Linked DNA regions of Homo sapiens: region 2 is linked to region 1. The links are contacts of gene promoters, found by promoter capture Hi-C in blood cells and fetal thymus (Javierre and others, 2016). All regions are on one chromosome and are shown on one strand. The core of a region is centred on a gene start or on the middle of the fragment in contact, and the rest is flanking DNA. Distances in the headings are between cores, read along the strand shown. Region 1 holds the start of LRP1-AS (LRP1 antisense RNA). Region 2 overlaps HSD17B6 (hydroxysteroid 17-beta dehydrogenase 6).

Evidence for each region. Contacts are between HindIII fragments. The CHiCAGO score rates a contact against its expected background, and 5 or more counts as called.
Region 2: a fragment that was not itself captured here is called in contact with the fragment with the promoter of LRP1-AS in region 1 in 6 of 17 cell types (naive CD4 T cells, erythroblasts, naive B cells and 3 more); the score reaches 6.7 in naive CD4 T cells.

What each region holds. Positions count from the first base shown.
Region 1 is chr12:57,146,348-57,152,669 of GRCh38, reverse strand. It overlaps LRP1-AS (LRP1 antisense RNA), which reads left to right and starts at 5,051. Exons shown (of 2, transcript NR_131938.2): 1 at 5,051-5,231. The region is part of intron 6 of LRP1 (LDL receptor related protein 1); the gene reads right to left. RefSeq lists enhancers at 2,724-3,651, 5,509-6,322. The HindIII fragment of the contact is 5,560 bases long and covers 4,517-6,322 here.
Region 2 is chr12:56,766,233-56,772,547 of GRCh38, reverse strand. All of the region lies in intron 1 of HSD17B6 (hydroxysteroid 17-beta dehydrogenase 6), which reads right to left. Among named protein-coding and RNA genes, the nearest start is that of HSD17B6, 6.1 kb to the right of the region's middle. The HindIII fragment of the contact is 2,222 bases long and covers 388-2,609 here.

The DNA of each region.
Region 1 (6,322 bases), core at 3,802-6,301:
TGGGCCCCCAGTACTGTCCCATCCTCACAAGATTGGAGAGAGGGGGAAGAGTAGCTTGAGGAGGCCAAGGCCCTGTAGGAAGAGGGCCTAGTGCAGGGGTAAGGCAACCAAATTCTTTGCCCCACACGCTGTAACCACAGAGAAAACAGATTCAAATGAATGCTGCTGGGCTGCCTCCAAAGGAAATCGAAGTCTCAAAGCAGGGACCTGCCTGCATCCCCTGGCAGCCAGCAGGGTGGCTGGAAGTCAAACAGGGCTGCGTGCCCTTTACTTGGTGGGCACGGCAGGGGTCTGGGGGCTGCTGGCATGTGTATGAACTTCATCAGTGAAAGCTGTTTTCCCAGCACCAGCTGGCGCAGCTACGGCCGGCCTTCTCTCCGACTTCCTGAGGCTTCCCTGAGTCACTGCCCAGCCCTAGGGCTGGCAATACCCTGCCCCTGCTCCCCCTATCCACCCTTCTCTTGGCAAGAGAGAGAAGGAAGAAACCTGCAGAGATCTGATGCCGCTATCCCAGGTGCAGCTCCACAATCAGCCCCCCCAGCCTCAGGATGTGGCCTGGATTCCCTCCCAATTCCGGGAAGGAAGGCAGAGAGATCATCCCTGCTCTCAGATATTTACCCTTGGCCGGTCTCCCTTCCACCTCCCCAAAGGCCAGGCAGGGCCCCACTCAGCAGGCCGGTGAGGAGTTGGCAAGAACTGGAGTCCTCGGCCTGCCTGGCCTCCCCTTTGGTATTTTTGCAGCTGGAGACTATTAGTTGCAAGCAAAAATCCTTTGTTATCCAACCCCCTGCACCACATTATTTTTCTCTCTCCTAAAGTTCAGATTCCTCTGCCTGCCCCACCACACACACACGCACATACGCACGTATGCACACACAAATGCACGCACAATCACACACACACACATACACTTGGCCACCACTCCAAGGCCAGTGTAGAGAGATGGGCTCAAAGGGAGAGGAGGAACCTTGCCTCCAGGGCTGCCCTATAGGCAGTATCTGGGCCACCCCTCTCTGTCTTATGAATTGGGGTCCAGGTGGAGTCCTGGGCTTCAGCCCAGAGATCCTGAGCATTCTGGCTCCACCAACCCTGAGGGGAGCCGTCCCCTTGTCGCCCAGCCTTCTAAGGGCCAACCACCTGAGCGCACCTTCTGAAGAGGCTCTGGCCAAAGGCCGAAAATCCTGAGGACAGGAGAATCTCAAATAAACCAAAGGGGAGAGAGGGAGGCTGTGTTGTGGAAGGAGTTGGGGGTGGTCTAGGGGCAGAGGGGCAGGGGATTCCAGCATGAAGAGGGAGGCTAGGAAGCAGGGAAGAGGTGCAGGAGTCAGACGAGAGACCACAGCTGCCCATTATGGCACAGAGGACTTTCAGTTCCAGGCCCCAGAATAGACCTGGTGTCCTGGCACCCCATCCCACTGCTCAGCATCTGCACTCACTACAACTCCAGCTTTTCTCAACTTCTCCATCATTCCCATTGTTCAAGAGGCATTTCCATACATGGTGGCTGCTTTCCCAAACACATGGGACCCACCCCATGCCCAAAAAGACTCTAGCTTCAGCTGCAGGATTCTAGTCACCTGCTCTAAAATAAGGAAATCGGAAGGAAGGAAGAAGCCTTTATGTCCTGAGAAAATGTCACCCAACACATCTACACACCCAAGAGTGTATACACATCCAAAGAGGTCCCTGGACCTCTATCCACATCCCCAGGGAGCACACTAGATTCTGGCCCTTGTTCCAGGAACCTCCCCACCTCTCCTCATATCATTCTGCTCTGCCCTGGGTCCAACTGGGCCCTAGACACTGACAGCCTGAGTTTGAATTCTGGTTCTGTCACCTTCCAACTGAGGCTATGAGCAAGTTACTTAATGCCTCTGAGTCTCTGTTTCCTCATTTGTAAAACTGGATGGTACACTAACTGCACTTAGCATGAGGCCTGGTGCATGATAAACACTCCCCACATGGGGGCTGCGGTTCCCACCATGTCCTCCCCTCCCTGAACCCATCCTTTCCCACCTTTTCCACCAAGTCGCCCTCTGTGCCTCCAGCCAGAGCCCTGTGGCCTCCTGACTCTAGGTGGGCCCTCCAGGTGGGCCATTTGGGGCTAACACCTACTACTCGTCAAGACTCGGCTCAGGCTCCCAGAAGGAAGCTTGCCCTATTAGAAGGAAGTTTTCAAGGCCAGGCTCAGTGGCTCACGCCTGTAATCCCAGCACTCTGGGAGGCTGAAGCAGGTGGATCATGAGGCCAGGAGATCGAGACCATCCTGGCTAACATGGTAAAACTCTGTCTCTACTAAAAACACAAAAAATTAGCCAGGCGTGGTGGCGGGCACCTGTAGTCCTAGCTACTCGGGAGCCTGAGGCAGAAGAATGGCGTGAACCCGGGAGGCAGAGCTTGCAGTGAGCCAAGATTGCATCACTGCACTCCAGCCTGGGCGACAGAGTGAGACTCCATCTCAAAAAAAAAAAAAAAAAAAAGAAGGAAGTTTTCCTGTTACAGGCTCCATAGGCCTCTGGAGCTTCTTTGATCATGGCCTCTTCACCTGACTGCAAATACTGTAAGGAGAGCGCTGCCTTTTGTCTTTGTCTCAGGCGTCTGACACACATGTATTGATCCATTGAACAAATATTTATTGAAGACTGAGTCTGTTGTTCTAGAGCTGGGACATCATTTTCCCCCTCTCTTCTACTGCCAGGATCCTGCCTCTCTGGCCTTGGGACACTCCAAGACAGTGGGAGAGGACAGTCTGTCTAGTAATCCTACTCAGGGATCTCGCCTGGGCCTGGGAGAGATGGCGGAGAGTCTGAGGACTTCGAAGGTGGGAAGGAGACCTCCTGGCGAGCCTGGCAGAAGCTCTGCTAAACGATGTGGCCTCATGCTCCTTGTTTCCTGCTGGGTCCCGACTTCAGCTCTTCCTTCCACCAGCCAGTCTGGAGCTTAGCCGTGTTGTGTCACCTCGTTCTCCTGGGCTCTCTTCCTGCTCCTGCCTGTGATTCCAGCCTGTGGTTATGTCCTGCTACCTTCCCCTGCCTGGCTTAGGTCCCCAAGAGGCATTTCGACCTAGATCCCAGGGATGATGCCTGGATTCCACTCAGCCCATCTTAGGGTCTTCCCTCTATTGAGAAATCCTTGCCGGGCTCTAAAACACATCTCTCTTGCTTAAGTTACTTCCTTTGGCTTGAAAACAGCAAGGGGAGTGCTGGGAGCAGTCTGGGTGGAGAGGCAATTTCAAGGAGACAGCGGGGGAGGAGAGGACAGGGCTGGATCTGGGCCGGGAGACACAGGGCTGGCCCGGGCCAGGAGAGAGGAGGAGCAAGAGTGAGCTGTTAAATGATTAGGAAACTCAGAACAGGAATGGGAAGCAAAAGTGCCAGGATGCAGGGGGCCTAAGGCCAAAGAGTGGGGTGGCTAGAGCCACCCCTCCCCAAACAGCCTGGCATCCCATGGGTCAGAAAGGCCAAGGATGGGCATGGTTAGCTTTCACATGTGAAGTCTGGAAGTGCTTTGTAGGCAGGGTGGGAGGCTGAGAGGGTCCAGGGGTGCCCAGCACAGTGGGGAGGTAGCACCCCTTCCAGCAGCAGCAGCCAGTTCATTAGACTCAGAGGGACTGCTGTCTGCCCCTTCTTTGCCTCCCCTCTAGACAAATCACTACCCCATTTCCTGTTGTGATTTCGAAAACACACACACTAAAAAAATAAATAAATAAAAGAAAGGGAGAGGAAGGGAAAAGTGAAGTTGGCCAGCTGGACCTGGGACCCATTTCGCAACCTTGCTGCCTGCAGCCTAGGGGCCCTTTGCTGAGCTCCCCAGCCACCTCCTTCTTCCCCATGCAGCATGGTGCAGGGAGGGGAACCCTGAGACCTCTGAGAGCCCCTTCAGACCATCCTTTCACACACAGTCCAAACTCCTGAGTGACTTCAGCAAACCCGATTTCCTTCAAGGCCTCTATTTACAACCTCAGAACCTCCCCTCACCATACACACCCATGTTCCCAGGACCCCAATCTTGCAGTCTGCCTCATTCTTTCTACAGTGGTGGCATCCTCCAAGGTGAAGGGAATACAGATCAGAGGAGCTCAGCTTAGGAAATGCAGGGCTGGGCTGGGGTCGGTAGACTGCACCACCAGGCCTGCCCAGGGGCAGCCTGGCAGGAGGCTGGACAAAGCTGGGTTACAGGCTCCATAGGCCTCTGGAGCTGAGAGACTGGTCAGAGGTGGGGGTGAGAGTGCGCAGGCCTGGTTCCTGACTAAGGGACTATCAGGCCTGTTGATCCCTCTGGGCCTCAATTTTCAGAACTTTAGTCTTTTGTGTATCACTTTCAAAATGTCTACCATGCTTATGTACAGCTTGCGCTACTGTTTATTACCAGTTATTTCAATTAACTTACTTTTCTTATTTCGCTGCATGCTAAACAATTGCTGAAGTAACAGATTTGATGTGCTAGTTACAGGAGTTTCCTAATGCATATCAAATAAAAACGTAACTATAACAGTTAAAAAAAAAAAAAAAAAGCTTGTCCAGGTACCATCTAAAATCAAATCAATGCATAGCCCCTTTGAGAAAGCAGTAGTGAAAGCCAGGGCTGCTCTTGGTACTGGCCAAGGGTCTTGCCTTCTCTTCCGGCTCTCACCATGGAGTTCTCTGGTCTTGGAATTCGAGCCTCATAGACCTCCCCAAACCACTGGGCCAGCGGCAGAGGGGAGGGGGAGGTAATCTCAGGTGGGAGGAAAAGAGATGACCCACCCAATCCAGGGGGATAACACTGGGCCTGAGGCAGGAGGGTCAGCAGCCCTGGGGCATTGAAGAGGAATGTTCACACACTGCAGGGCCTCAGGGGGGCCCTCGGGGGCTCTCAGGACTCCACAACAGGTCTGACTCACATGGCCCAGGACACATGTGAACCAGGCTCATTTCCTGGCCTCCTTCCTTCTTTCTATTCTATTTCTGCTTCCAGAGTTTTCTCTGGGGCAGGCTCCCCCTTCTGCCTGCACCAGCGGGCTGGCCTCGCTGGCTCGAACACCCCTCAATTGTCAGACTCCTCCCTCTGTGTGCACCCCTGCTGCATGAGGCTCAGCCCCAGGGGTCCAACAGAGGTCACAGTCACAGCACAGAATGGAAGGCTTGCAGGGAGGGCTGCCCTGGAGGGCAGAGTGAAAGCAGGGGAAAGCTGCAGCCTTTCTTCTTCGTCCTCCTTGGGGAGCTAATTACAGGCCAGCAGCCACTGTGCAGGTGAGTGCCTGGGACCAGCCACCCTACACACCAGGGCAGGCCAGTCAGCATCTCCTGGGGAGGGGGATGACCCAGAAACTGGGGGAGGGGCTAGGGGAGAGACACTGACGTCCTCAGTTTGGGACCCATAATTAGTTTGTGGGAGAGAGCAAAACAACCATCCTCAGGGTGACAGCCAGACATTCAGGCGGCAGGGACGTGGAGCAGGGGGAGGGCAGGGAGGAAGGGACAGAAGCTGGGATGAGAGAAACCCACTCATTTACCCCACAAGCATTTCCCCTTGGACTCTTCTAGCCTCCTGGACTCTGCCCCTGAGAGGCCCAGTGAGTTTAGCAGACTGGGAGGCAAGGCAAATCTGTTTGCCAAGGGAGGGGTACCAGCTTCTCCTGGGGAGGAAGTCAGATAAGGAGATGAGGCCAGAGTAGAAGTTGAGAAGGTTACCTCCAGGACACCCCATAGCCACCTACCCAGAAGCCCACTGTATGGCAAGATGCAGGGCTGGGGAGGAAACTGACAAGCTGTCTGCCCAGACAGGCCTGTTGAGTAGGTCAGTGGACAAGGAACAGGGGGAGGGCAGCTGCACAAGAGGGTCTAGCACCAATCCCACCCCATCAGCCATGGGGTTCCCTGAGTCGCCCACTCGTTAAGAGCTCAGCCAACCAGGCTTGACAGCCCCCAGCTCAGCACCCCAAGGAGGACACATGTCTGATCACAGGTGAGCTGTGGACAGCAGCAGCCCAAGGACGCTATCAGGGATGCTCTGGAGGAGCCAAAGGCAGAAATGTGAACCTTACGCTGAGGCCACGGAGAGTGAGGGCTCTCAGAGGAACCCCTGCTCGCCACCATCCCGGGGAGGGGCCTTTCTCTCTCCCAGAATGAATCCCTTGTAACCTCCTGGGATCTTTCTTTTCATCACAAGAACCAAATAAAGAAACTTGAAGATCTTCTAGAGAGGCCCAAGGTTCACAATCCTCAACTTCAAAGTGTGCTGTCCTTTACCACTGGCTTTCACTCCAGTTAATCTGATCTAGACAGACAAGCTCAAACCCATTATGCAGATTAGGAAACCAAGGCAGAGATGGGAATTCTGG
Region 2 (6,315 bases), core at 249-2,748, 380 kb after region 1:
ATTTTGTATTTTTAGTAGGGAGAGAGTTTTTTACCATGTTGGCCAGGCTAGTCGTGAACTCCTGACCTCAGGTGATCCACCCACCTTGGCCTCCCAAAATGCTGGGATTACAGGCATGAGCCACCACACCCAGCCATAACACTCATCTTTTAAGTCTCAGCCTAATCATCACTTTCATTCAGCAAACATTAATTCAACAACTACTTGAGTCAGACACAGTGTTAGGCACTGATACACAAGAGTGAACAATACATAGTCCATTTTTCATTGAATTCACAGTCTCATTATGAAGACTGACAACAATGCATTATAACAGAAGTAAAAACAGGAGGCTGCTGGAACACTCAGGAGAGGCTTCTAAGGCAGTTTAGAGAGGTCTGAGAAGCTTCCTAGAGAGAATAAAATATAAGTTGAGATCTACAGGTGTACTAGTCCGTTTTCACACAGCTATAAAGATACCACCCGAGACTGGGTAATTTATAAAGAAAAGAGGTTTAATTGATTCACAGTTCCACATGGCTGGGGAGGTCTCAGGAAAATTACAATCATGGTAGAAGGGGAAGCAAACACATGATGGCAGGAAAGCAAAAGCAAGCAAGAGAGGAACTACCAAACGCTTATAAAACCATCAGCTCTCATGAGAACTCAACATGGGGGAAACCACCCCCATGATCCAATCACCTCCCACCAGGTTCCTCCCTAAACACCTAGGAATTACAATTCAAGATATGATTTGGGTAGCGACACAAAGCCAAACCATATCAAAAGGATAATTAAAAAATAATAGCTAGGCCAGGCACACTGGCACATGCCTGTAATCTCAGCATGTTGGGAGGCCAAGGCAGGCAGATCACCTGAGGTCAGGAGTTTGAGATCAGCCTGGTCAACATGGCGAAACCGCATCTCTACAAAAATACAAAAATTAGCCAGGCATGATTGTGGGCGCCTGTAATCCCAGCTACTTGGGAGGCTGAGGCAGGAGAATCGCTTGAACCCGGGAGGTGGAGGTTGCAGTGAGCCGAGATCATGCCATTGCATTCCAGCCTGGGTGACAGAGCGAGATTCTGCCCATCTCAAAAAAAAAAAAAAAAAAAAAAAATTGCAACCCTTGCCGAGCACTTGCTGTGTATCAGGCTCTGTTCTAAGATGTCACATATATTAACTTTTTGAATTCTCACAAGAACCCTACAAGACAGGTCCCATCATTATTCCTCTGTGTCAGTTCAGATACCAAGACAAAATTAGACATGCAAGAGATTATGGGGGAAACACCCTCAGAGGACAAAGGGGGAAGGCACAGGAATAGGTGGTAATGCAGATCTGACACCTCGGGAAGGAGAGGGGAACAGAAGGAGGAGAAGATAGGAAGAGCTTTAGACTGTAGTAGAGCCCCAAGAAAGTCTCAGCCAGGCCCATGAGCCTGAGCAAAGACTGCCACTGGAGAAGTTCCACACTGGGCTGAACTGGTCCAGCTCCAGTACTGCCATCCTTCTGGTCATTGGCTGACCAGTGCCCAAGAGGAGCGTGCCTCAGTGTAAATACCACAGCAGATCGGAGGGTGCCACAACTGGAGGCTGGAAGTCAACCTCACTCCTCATAGCAGATTTTCTTGAGTGATCTGAGCAATGCACCTCAATGGCTGCCACACTGTTTCATAGGTGAGCACTGAGAGATTACATACAGTACTAGACAGAGGGGACAAAAAATGGTCCAGGCAAGAGACTTTCCTGCCCTGATTTAACCTGCCCCATGGTCTAACAGAATTGACTATACCCTCCTTAGTGTCCCCATTGTGGCCTGGGTTTATCATGATGCCTGCTGTACTTCATTGCACTGCTCTTCCCCATTTTTAGACTATAAGGCCCTTGAGAGCCCAGGTTACATATTAGTCTGCACCTGGCCCAGTGAATGGCACATAGCAGATACTTAATAAATGTTAGATAAATTAAGTTATACTAAGTAAAAATATCCTGATAAAAAATTGAGAGAAAAAAAGCAGGGAGAATGAGCCAGAGAAGTAGGAAAAAGCAAGCTGATGAAAGCCAAGGAAAGGGGGGCTTAATGAGGATCAGCAATGCAACCAGGAGGTCTGCTGGGTAATAGGAGGGCACTGGTGCTCTTAACGGGAAGACTCAGACAGTGAAGGGCACAGAAGCCAATCTTCAGTGGGCTGCTGCATGAATTGGAGGGCAGGAAGTGGAGCCGAGTGGAGACTCTTTTTCAAAAGCCTGGTCTGGGAAGGAGAGGAGAGAAGGCAGTAAGTAGCGAGAGGGCAACTTAGGGTGTAGGCAAGTAAAGTGGAAGGAGACAGTGAAAGGGAGAAAACAGTGGAGAGAGGCATATATTGCTCCTCCCTCCCCCACCATCTTCTCTTTCTCTCCTTTTCCCCTCTTCCCTCTGTCTCTCTCCTTCCTTCTCTGAAGCCCTTTGCCTCTCTCCAATCTGAGAGCTCTGTGTTCTCTAGCCAGCTGCCTCTGTTCTGCCTAAGTGGCATTCCCTGGTGCACTACAGTAACACAGAGAGCTTCAACCTGACTGTTTATTGACTAAAAGGTAATTTTCTGTTGCCAGTCAAAGATGAAAACGTATTTCCCCCATTAGAGAGAAGCTTGGCCCTCACAGTTTCCCCGGGCATTACTATTCAGCCATCGCATGCCTAGCAGCAAGAAGACCTGCAGAAGAGATACACCTGGCGGAATCCCAAACCCTAGGCCAAACCTGAATGTGCCTCGAATATTTCAAATGTCCAAATACCCGAAGTGGCGTGGCCTGCTTGCTTTTACAAACCATTCATCTGCAAAAGCTGTGCAATTACTTTACGTTTTTGCCTTTGACTCAAATTATTTATACACAGTACTTAAGCTGCTATTTCTTGATTTACCAATTTTTGACATTCTCAATTAACTTCCTGCTATGGTAAATAAGAATTCAGCTTTCTTACATCATATTGTCAGTCTCTTCCTTTCTCATCTACACTATGCTATCTGGTTAATTTTATTTAATGAGTTTTGAGGTCGAGCCTAGAAAACACCTTCATAATCACACATGCATAGGTTAAGAACTTCCACTGTTTATTTCAGGTCTGATCCCCATCTTGGGCTTCATCATTGCTTGAAGCTACTCTCCCACAAAGATCTTGAAAAGCTAGGCCAGGCACGGTGGCTCACGCCTGTAATCCCAGCACTTTGGGAAGCTGAGGCAGGCAGATCACCTGAGGTCAGGAGTTCGAGACCAGCCTGGGCAACATGACTAAGCCCCATCTCTACTAAAAATACAAAAATTAGCTGAGTGTGGTGGCAGTGCCTGTAGTCCCAGCTACTTGGGAGGCGGAGGCACAAGAATCGCTTAAACCTGGGAGGCAGAGGTTGCAGTAAGCCAAGATCACGCCACTGCACTCCAGCTTAAGTGACAGAGTGAGACTCTGCCTCAAAAAAAAAAAAAAAAACCTTGAAAAGCTGAAACTGCCCTCTCTGCACAGCCCCATCCTATCTTTGGGGCTCTTCCCCTCCCCCCACTCCCCTCTACTTCTTTCTTCCTGCTCTGCCTTCCTTTTCCTCAGTCTCTCTCTATTACTGCAATCCTCTCACAGTTTCATTTGCCTCCTTATTCAGCACAGGTCTCATAGTTGGCCATTTTAGGGGTGCTTCACTAGCACCCCAAAGCCTTTACCATCCATGTTCTCTAGCTGCCAGCTGCCAAGTGGTGCTAGAGAAAGACCAGAAAACAAACTTTTATACAACAAATCAATGTTATCCTATCTCAGCTGCGCCCCCTCCCCCCCGCCCACCGCCAATATAAGGCAAACCTTCTGTTTGCCTCCATTTGACTCCTCCCTTATTATTTCGCAACAACACCTGTTCCAAATCTTTACTAGCCTTCAAAATTTCCCAACCTCATGTTTACCTAGCTCTCCTTCCACAGATGAGCATACACGTTGCTTCCCTGCCAAAATCCAGATCTGCTCAACCTGGACACTCTAATTCCTACCCACAACATTTTGCCTGTCATCTCAGGGGGTTCCAGGGCCCAGTGAGGCTACCTCTGCTCTAAATTTCTCTGTATTGTCTTCTATCCTCTTTCTTCTGCCTTTCATCCTCCCTAAGACCATCCTAACCTGCCACCCCTTTAATAACCATCCTCTCTCTTCCCCATATGGCCAAAATATTCAAAGGGCAAGCACAGGCCCTCTATTTTCTTGCCACCCACGAGCTCCTTGCACTTCACCTTCCATTCCCATCACTCTCTGGAAACTCTCTCACAGCTCACCAAGGACCTATTAGCAGACAATTCCCAAGGCTTCCTCTCTCTTCTCCTCAGACCTCACTGCAATATTTAGCACATTCTTTTTTCTTATGATTTTATCTGATTCTTAGATCCTAACCTGGCCTTCAGTGAAGAAGAAGAAGATTGCTTTCAGATCGTGCCATGCTCTCATTGGATTCTGTCTGTGACTCCCTGTCACCCACAGGATAAAGTCAGAACTCCTCAGCTTGACACACGATAATAATAGTGAACAGTTATAGAGAACTTTCCTTGCCAGGCACTGTGTGAAACCATATATATATATACACAATATACACACACACACACACATGGTTTCACACATATATATGTGTGTGTGTGTATATTGTATACGTGTGTGTATACATTGTATATATATGTGTATATACGTGTATATATACACGTATACACACACATATATTTTTATATATACACATATATACACACATATATATTATATATACACACATATATATTATATATACATAATATACACAATATATACACATATATATACGTATATATAATACATATATATTATATATGTGTGTATATATGTGTATATATAATATACCCTCTATTGTGTATATATAATATATACACTATATATATAATATATATAATATATTAATATAATATATATGTTATATATTAATATATGTATGTGTATATATATAATATATATACACAATAGAGGGTATATGCAATTATTTTGTTTTTGTTTTTTTTTTGTTTTCGTTTTGTTTTGTTTTGAGAGGGAGTCTCGCTCTGTCCCCGGGCTGGAGTGCAGTAGCGCGATCTCGGCTCACTGCAAGCTCTGCCTCCCAGGTTCACGCCATTCTCCTGCCTCAGCCTCCCGAGTAGCTGGGACTACAGGCGCCTGCCACCACGCCCGGCTAATTTTTTTTTTTTATTTTTTAGTGGAGACAGAGTTTCACCGTGTTAGGCAGGATGGTCTCGATCTCCTGACCTCGTGATCCTCCCACCTCAGCCTCCCAAAGTGCTGGGATTACAGGCGTGAGCCACCGCGCCTGGCAGTGTATGCAATTATTATGCCCACTTTTCACATGAGGAAACTGAAGCACAGATTAAGGCAAGAATTAAGTGACTTTTCCAAGGTGAAACAGAGTGAATAGTAGAGACAGGATCAACTCCAGAGTGTTCACCTGCAGAAGCCTTGCATCTAACCACTGCACTACACTGCCTTTCCCTTTCAAGACCAGCCTGGGCAACATGACTAAGCCCTATCTCTACTAAAAATACAAAAATTAGCTGATTTTTCATGGTCAGGCCATGGCCTACGTTTGCCCCTTGGCTCCTGTCTCTCACAGCCAGAAGCCATAGTTTAATCCTTCTGACTACCCAATTTGAAGCACACGCTTCTCCGTTCACTTCTGAGATGCTCTACTCCCGTTCTCCTACAGCAGTCACAGACAGCGTCCCTTCCCCTTCACCCCTCCCAGCTCCTCCTCTCCCTTCTCTACCCTAAATGCAAGGACTCCTCAATGCCTCTTGATTGGCCTATCACAGAAGCTTTCTCACTAACCCCACAGTGTCACTCTCACTTCCCCTCTCATCCACATAGGGCTGTCTGGTTAATTTCCCTAAAGCGCAGCTCTGCCGATGTCACTCCCTGAATAGCATTCAACCTACTGAAAATCTAAATCTAAAACCTTAGTTGTACAAGGCCCTCCATGATTGGATCTTGACCTTTTCTCCCCCTCCTCTTTCTCACACTGCCTATGTTCCATCAAAACCAAAGAGCTTTAAAATGAAGGAAGTATGATTTGCTGAGCCTTGGAGGACAGATGGTATTTGACATGCAGAGATTGGGAACCAGGGCATTTCAGGCAAAGGGAATAGTGAGAGCAAAGACCTGGAACATGGCAAGTACAGAGCACTAATAAATGGAGATACCAACAAGACTACTCTGGATGATTCCGACTACCTTTTGTCACACGCGTCCCAGTGAAGAGATCACCAAACAGGCTTTGTGTGAGCAACAAGGCTGTTTATTTCACCTGGGTGCAGGCGG